2 separate regions of the Homo sapiens genome follow, and region 1 is linked to region 2. The links are contacts of gene promoters, found by promoter capture Hi-C in human tissues and cell types (Jung and others, 2019). All regions are on one chromosome and are shown on one strand. Each heading gives the region's core, a stretch centred on a gene start or on the middle of the fragment in contact. The rest is flanking DNA. Distances are from core to core; before and after follow the strand shown. Region 1 overlaps ASRGL1 (asparaginase and isoaspartyl peptidase 1). Region 2 holds the start of SCGB1D2 (secretoglobin family 1D member 2).

Region 1 (3,486 bases), core at 950-3,449, 130 kb before region 2:
GGCATCCGTGCTGACATGTGAGGAAGGGGACTCTTTGGTAATCCCAACTATTTGGTACTAGAGCCAAGCAAACGTGACTAAAGGGAGCTGGGTCAGCAGAACGGTACCCCGAGTCTCAGCAACAGGATGGCCCGCACGAGGCAGGATCCAGGCAGGGGAGAAAAGGAGACCAAAGTACAAGGCGATCGAGGCTGGTACAGAAAGGGCTGATCCTTCTTGCAAGGACTGGAGAATGCATTTGACTGCTGGCTGATCAATCTCTAATTGGCGAGTGCGTGTGACAAGGCTCAGCCCTGGCTCCGCAGGGAGCCATGAAGCTGACTCAACTGATACAAATGTTCCCACCTTTGCTCCACCCCCAAGTCCCCATGGTTCCATAATCACCTGATTTTCATTTGGACTTCTTTAACAGCTAAAGTAGATATAAGTGGCTAAACACAGATCCCCAATCCCCCACCAGGGGGGACACAGCTGATTCTATAATGTTGCAGCCAGAAGGCTGTGGGTGTACAGGCAGCCAAGAGGAGAAACAGAACTGACACCGGCCTAGGCCGATCTGCAAGAAAAAGCGGGAAAGGAGTGACCCGGATGCTTCCGAAGCACGCGAGCATGATTTTGGATGGAGGTGGGCCGGCGACTTCGCCTAGCTGCTGCCGGTTCCTGTAAGGGACATTTTTTCTGAGTAAATGGCGATTCCTCTTCCATGTAGCATCCACTTAGATCACGATGCTAATTATAACTGGAAAGGAGTGTTTTGGGGAGTGTATTCAGGAGAGGAAGAAAGAAAAAAAAAACACCTAGATTGCTCAAAGTTTCTGCCTCTTTGTAGGAATGGTAAGTCAACTACGAGCAAGTATTTTAATTCGACATTAAGAGGAAAAAAGGGTCTTTGGAAAGCAAACAGAAAAAAAGGTAGTTAACGTTGGATCACTTGTAAAACGGAACCTCAGGGAGTCTAAATAAAAATGCACCTTCGGTCCACTTTTGCTTTTTTAAATTCCTTGTTTGACTTCCCGTCCCAGTGCACATGGAAATGACAGCTGCCATGAGAGGTGTGGAGTCGGAGGAGTCTCTGGGAGCATCAGAGGGTTTGGGGGCTGTATTCTGGCAGTTTCTTGATCTTTTCTTTCTCAGTTTCACTTTCATCTCTTGCTATCACCAAGGAGTGTGAGTAGCCCATGGCGACCGGCTCTGAGAAAATGCCATGCAGAGTCTTCACCTCCTGGGCTGCAGTGGAAGACTTGGGCTTGTGATCCCTGTAGCCCAGTTCCCCAAAGGTCGGTGATGGGCCCCAGCTGATGGTGCTCTCATCGGCTGCCACAATGATGCTGCTCTTCCCACAAGCCAGGCTCCAGATTCTCCAGCTGCAGAGGTCCTGCACTGCTTTTGGGTACATGGTAGATTCATGGGAGGTGTTGGTGGCCCCCCAGAAAAACAGACCACCCACTTCACTGACGGCAAAGGAGCAGGTGTAACCAGCATAGATCTGGGAAGCCCCATGCCCAGGGAAGTCAAATAGCTTCACCAGGCGGGGGACCATCTCATCCTTCTGCTCTGTGTAGCCCAGCCAGCCATAGCCACTGAAGCCCCAGGAGAAGACTCACTTCTGGGAGTCCAGGACCAGCATGTGGTTAGCGCCACAGGCCACGTCTCGCATAACCATATTTGGTACAGGCAGAATCTGTCTTTTGTCTTCTCAATGAAGATGGCCACTCGCTGGGGAACTAGTTTGCAGTCATACTCTATCTGCTGTGCCCGGGCAATGAACTTCCCATCTGAGTTGTGTCCCAGCTGACCATATTCAGGGCACCCAAAGGAATAGAGGTTTCCTTTGCAGTCCATTATCATACTGATTTGCAGCCTCACAGGCCATTTTGGTAATTGGCAGGCTGTTGTACATTATCTGCACAGGGCTGGGGACAGCGTCTGTCTAGTTGCCAAGGCCCAGCTGCCCCATCTTGTTTTCCCCAAACGCAAACACGGAGCCCGTTTCCGTCAAGGCCAAGGTGTGGTTCCGCGCACACGCTGCACACAATCACTTCGTGGCTGAGACCCTCGGTGAGTCTGGGGGCTTCTACTCTCTTGGTGTCACCATGTCCCAGCTGCGCCTTCTCATTTCGACCCCAGCTCCACAGCTTTCCTTCTGTGGTGATGAGGAGGCTGTGTGCAGCACAGGAGCCAGAGACCACTGTCCGCACCCGGACCCCCGCCAGGCACCCATACCTATGGGGTCCCCACAAATTCTGACGGATATTGCCGTACGCAGCTTCCTGTTTAGGAACTTTTTTTTTTTTTTTTTTTTTGAGACGGAGTCTTGCTCTGTTGCCCAGGCTAGAGTGCAGTGGCGCGATCTCGGCCCACTGCAAGCTCCGCCTCCCGGGTTCACGCCATTCTCCTGCCTCAGCCTCCTGATTAGCTGGGACTACAGGAGCCCGCCACCACGCCCGGCTAATTTTTTTTGTATTTTTAGTAGAGACGGGGTTTCACCGTGTTAGCCAGGATGGTCTGGATCTCCTGACCTTGTGATCTGCCCGCCTCGGCCTCCCAAAGTGCTGGGATTACAAGCCTGAGCCACCACTCCTGGCCTTGTTTAGGCACTTATTTTCGACCAATCAAGTCCCAGTTGGTTGCCCCCAAAATCAAAAGCTCCCCTTTGCACTTTGTGAGGAAGTCCCTGTGGCCTTCCGCAGTGTATTGTGTCCCTGGGTACTTGAGATTAGAGAATGGTGATGACTTTTACCAAGCATACTGCCTTCAAGCGCTTTTTTAACAAAGCACAGCCTGCACAGCCCTAAATCCATTAAACCTTGAGTAAACACAGCACGTCTCAAGTTTGACGTGCTTCTTGGTGTGCTCGGGTTCGGCGACCACCACAGCCGCACCGCCCACCTTGCCTGCTGCCACAGGCTGCGCCGCGCGCTTGCCCCTGCCGGGGGCCCCGTCGAGCTCCAGGCCGTCCTCGTCGCCGCTGCTGCTGCTGCCACCACTGCTGCTACTGCAGCGCTCGGGAGGCTCGCGCTTCCGGCTGCGGGGCCGCCACGTTTCCTGGGCCCTGGCGTGGGCAGTGCCGTTGCCCGAGCTCAGCTCCTCCCAGGCCGCCACCGCCGCCTTCTTCCTGGGCATGGTTGCGGCTGGTTGGAGTGATGAGAAACCAGAGAGAAAAAAGGAAGAGAAGCAACTAAAAGACGGATCGGAGGGCTTTTTTTTTTTTCCTGGCCCAGACGAGGGCTCCAGCCCACTCAGATACACTTAAAAATGCGCCAGGATGTTTAATGCTGCAATCCAAAATTGGTTGGTAGCAGTACCTACTGTCAGTACCACCAGTAGACTTACTTATCACATGGTAAACAGAATGTCACACAGGCCACAGGTAAATTATTTACAGGACTTTCCTTATCAAAGATCATTAAAATTTAGGCCTAAAGGAAAACCTTGCCCCACGGAAATTCCCAAAGGATCAAAAGACACAGAAGTTTTAGTTTGGGA
Region 2 (3,431 bases), core at 643-3,142:
CCTCTGATTTCTTGAGAAAGACAGAGTGAGAACATCCCGCTTCCATGGCACTGCAGGAGGTAGACTAGCTAGGGTCTTGGACGACTGGCCATGGTCAGGAGAGTGTCGTGGGTGTGGAGGGGAGTATGGGGTCTCAGGAGCTGGGAGGGGCTCCTTCCTGGCTCTGCAGAAGCTGCAGAGAAGTCCAGCCTGCCAGTGCTACATCTGCAGGAGCCCCTGCTCTATGTCCCTCCCTGCCTTCCTCTCCCTGTTCAAGGCTCCCATGCTCCCCAGGACATTCCACAGTGACTGTGTCCATTACATGAGGGCAGTTTGGTCTCAGGAAAGCTCCCAGCAGCGAGGCGGCCATGCTTGGCCCTTTACCATTTCTGCCTGGGCCCAGGCTCACTCCCCATGTCCTCAGCACACTCTGGGGACATGGCATCCAGGCAGGTGACATGAGAAGGAGGAACATGCAGGAGGCTGTGTGCAGCTGAGTTGAATTCTGCAGGTGAAATGGTGGCACCCACCCTGTGGCCCCAGGTGACCTTCTCAAGAGGTGACCAGCAAGGCAGCTGCCCCACCACCTGTGTCCCCAACAGAGCAGCAAGCTGACCTCACTTCATACTGTGCAGCTGACCAGAAGCCTTAACAAATAAAGGAGAAAGAAGTTACCAGGACTTCCGCAATGAGGCTTCGTTTCTGAAGGGACATCTGATCCGTGCATCTCTTCACTCCTAACTTGGCTGCAACAGCTTCCGGAGGGGCATCAAATTTGGCAAGACTTAACTTGAACAGAGGTTCACTAATGAAGAAGAAGTCTAACAGCTCAGAAACAAGAGCTGGGCAGAACTCGGCATTGGCTGCAGCAAAAGAATAAAAATATAGTTGATGTTAGGAAAGTCGATTTTTCTCTTTGGCTCCCTGACGTTAGACCAGACAGGATCCCCTGGGTTATATGTTCACATACATTTGTTGTGCTGATGACAATGCCAGACCCTTCAGGTGTGACTTCCTCAAGCTCTCACAATAAAGGAAAGCACTTCATATCAACAGCCAAACTCTTTTTTTTCCCTTTGTCACCCAGGCTGGAATTCAGTAGCTCAATCATGGCTCACTGCAGCCTCTACCTCCTGGGCTCAAGCGATATCCCCATCTCAGCCCCCTAAGTAGCTGAGACTACTGGTGCATGTCACCACGTCCAGCTGATTTTTCATATTTCTTTTGGTAAAGCTGGAGTTTCGCCACGTTGCCTAGGCCGGACTCAAACTCCTGAGCTCAAGCAATTCACTCTCCTTGACCTTCCAAAGTGCTAGGATTACAGGCATGAGCCGCCATGCTTAGCCCACAGCTAGACTCTTTTGACAGTATTAATCTTTCTTACTCCATTCTCATAGCCTCTCCTGGCAGAAGCGCTAACTACCAGTGATAGGAGGAGGCTCAGGGAGGGTGAGCATTGTGCCCAAGGTCAAAGGGCTGGGAAGTGGCGGATCCCAGATTCACCCCAGACCTCACATTACATCATCTGACACAGATCCCACCCAGGAGTGAAGCTCAGGCAGAAGAATTCCTAATATTTGCCTGCACTGATTTTCAATAAAACTTCGTAGGTGCTGGGGAGTAGAAGAAATAGCTCTGAACTTGATGAGGGGCTTGTTCAACAAGCACAGAAAAAGGTTTGGAATTTTGGTTTTGTGCAGATCCTAACCCCAGCCTGAATAGGTGACCTCGTGCTTGGAAGAGGGTGCTTCCCAGGGGCTGGAGCTAGACTCATGACTGATGTACTCACCCTGGTAGCAGCAGAGGGCCAGCGTGACCAGCAGGAGACACACCGACAGCTTCATGGTGGCTTGTTTTGCTGTGAGCTCAGCTTTCACAAACAATGAGTGATTTGGACTCCACCCCAGGAGCCTGTGGAGCTGCAGAGCCCAGGGCTATTTGTACCTAGGGAGTCTAGCTGGTACTGGTCATGAGGCCTGGCTCCCAGCCCACCTCTCCTTCCCAGGGCTGTTGCCATCCATCTGTGTCACCTCCCCACGCCTCCCTGCACTCTGACTGGGGCAGAGCACAGGAGGGTAGCCCTGCAGGAACTCTGCTCTGTGTTCCAGGTGAATGTTCAGGCACCTCTGGAAATATTCCTGGGATTCTGTTTCCTTCTGAGTTTTGCTGATTATTTTTTTTCTTTGTATCAGTTCAAGGGCACAGGTAAATTCTGACTTTGGAAGGCACAGGAAGCTGGAAGGCTGTGTTCTGGTTATGGGGGAGCAGGGACATAAGGAAACCCTGCTTTGATCCCCCTGCATGTCTGACAACCAGTAGGCTTGTTTCAGTTGCACATTGAGCAAGTCTAAACAAGACCTATTCCCCTCAGCCCCTCCCATCACCACCATGTTCACTGCATAGGTACCTAAAACCTAGTTCAATGCATCTTACCTTTGGAGGATTTCCTGGGGAAAAGCAACTGCTGCACCTGTTCTCTAGCCTGTCTCACTCCCAAACCTGAGTCTTGTTTATGAGTGCAGCTATAAATATGGCCAAGACTCACATTTTCTCTCTACGAGGAGCAAGCTTTCTGTGATGTGTAGCCACCCACATGTTGATGGGTTGACCTGATGATTACATAGCCTAACTTTTTCCAAGTAGCTTTTGGAGTGTCCAGAGCCAATCATGCATCGGACAGGTACTGAGAGTTCTTTGCTCTGGGGCTCCAGGAGGGGAAGAAGATGGAAAAGAAGAGACAGATGATCAGGGTGAGTGGTCACTTCCCCCCAACCTCTAGGCTCAAGTTTTCCACTTCAAATCTAGCTGTGCAGCCTGAGCCAATCCCATTTTTAATAGAAAGGGAAGGAAGCACCCAGACAAAGCAATACACACCCTCCTGCCCTCCTGCTGTGATGCCTTTGTGTGGTGTGAGCAGGAAATCAATCACTAGAAATTTCTCTCTCTTTTTTGTTATTATACTTTAAGTTTTAGGGTACGTGTGCACAACGTGCAGGTTAGCTACATATGTATACATGTGCCATGTTGGTGTGCTGCACCAATTAACTCATCATTTAACATTAGGTATATCTCCTAATGCTATCCCTCCCCCCTCCCCCCACCCCACAACAGTCCCTGGTGTGTGCTGTTCCCCTTCCTGTGTCCATGTGTTCTCATTGTTCAATTCCCACCTATGAGTGAGAACACGCGGTGTTTGTTTTTTTGTCCTTGCGATAGTTTGCTGAGAATGATGGTTTCCAGCTTCATCCATGTCCCTACAAAGGACATGAACTCATCATTTTTTATGGCTGCATAGTATTCCGTGGTGTATATGTGCCACATTTTTTTAATCCAGTCTATCATTGTTGGACATTTGGGTTGGTTCCAAGACTTTGCTATTGTGAATAGTGCTGCAATAAACATACGTGTGCATGCGTCTTTATAGCAGCATGATTTATAATCCTTTGGGTATA

What was found. The method cuts DNA at HindIII sites, captures the fragments that hold promoters and counts their contacts. A contact is called where the count stands out against the background at its distance.
Region 1: a contact is called between a fragment that was not itself captured here and the fragment with the promoter of SCGB1D2 in region 2, in 1 of the 25 tissues and cell types used here (mesendoderm cells).

The regions. Positions count from the first base shown.
Region 1 is chr11:62,370,771-62,374,256 of GRCh38, reverse strand. The region is part of intron 4 of ASRGL1 (asparaginase and isoaspartyl peptidase 1); the gene reads right to left. It also overlaps the pseudogene RCC2P6. Among named protein-coding and RNA genes, the nearest start is that of ASRGL1, 35 kb to the right of the region's middle. RefSeq lists enhancers at 2,500-3,022, 3,023-3,486. The HindIII fragment of the contact is 5,556 bases long and covers 1-3,486 here.
Region 2 is chr11:62,240,700-62,244,130 of GRCh38, reverse strand. SCGB1D2 (secretoglobin family 1D member 2) reads right to left here and starts at 1,892. Exons shown (of 3, transcript NM_006551.4): 1 at 1,769-1,892; 2 at 655-842. The coding sequence starts at 1,823. The HindIII fragment of the contact is 7,638 bases long and covers 1-3,431 here.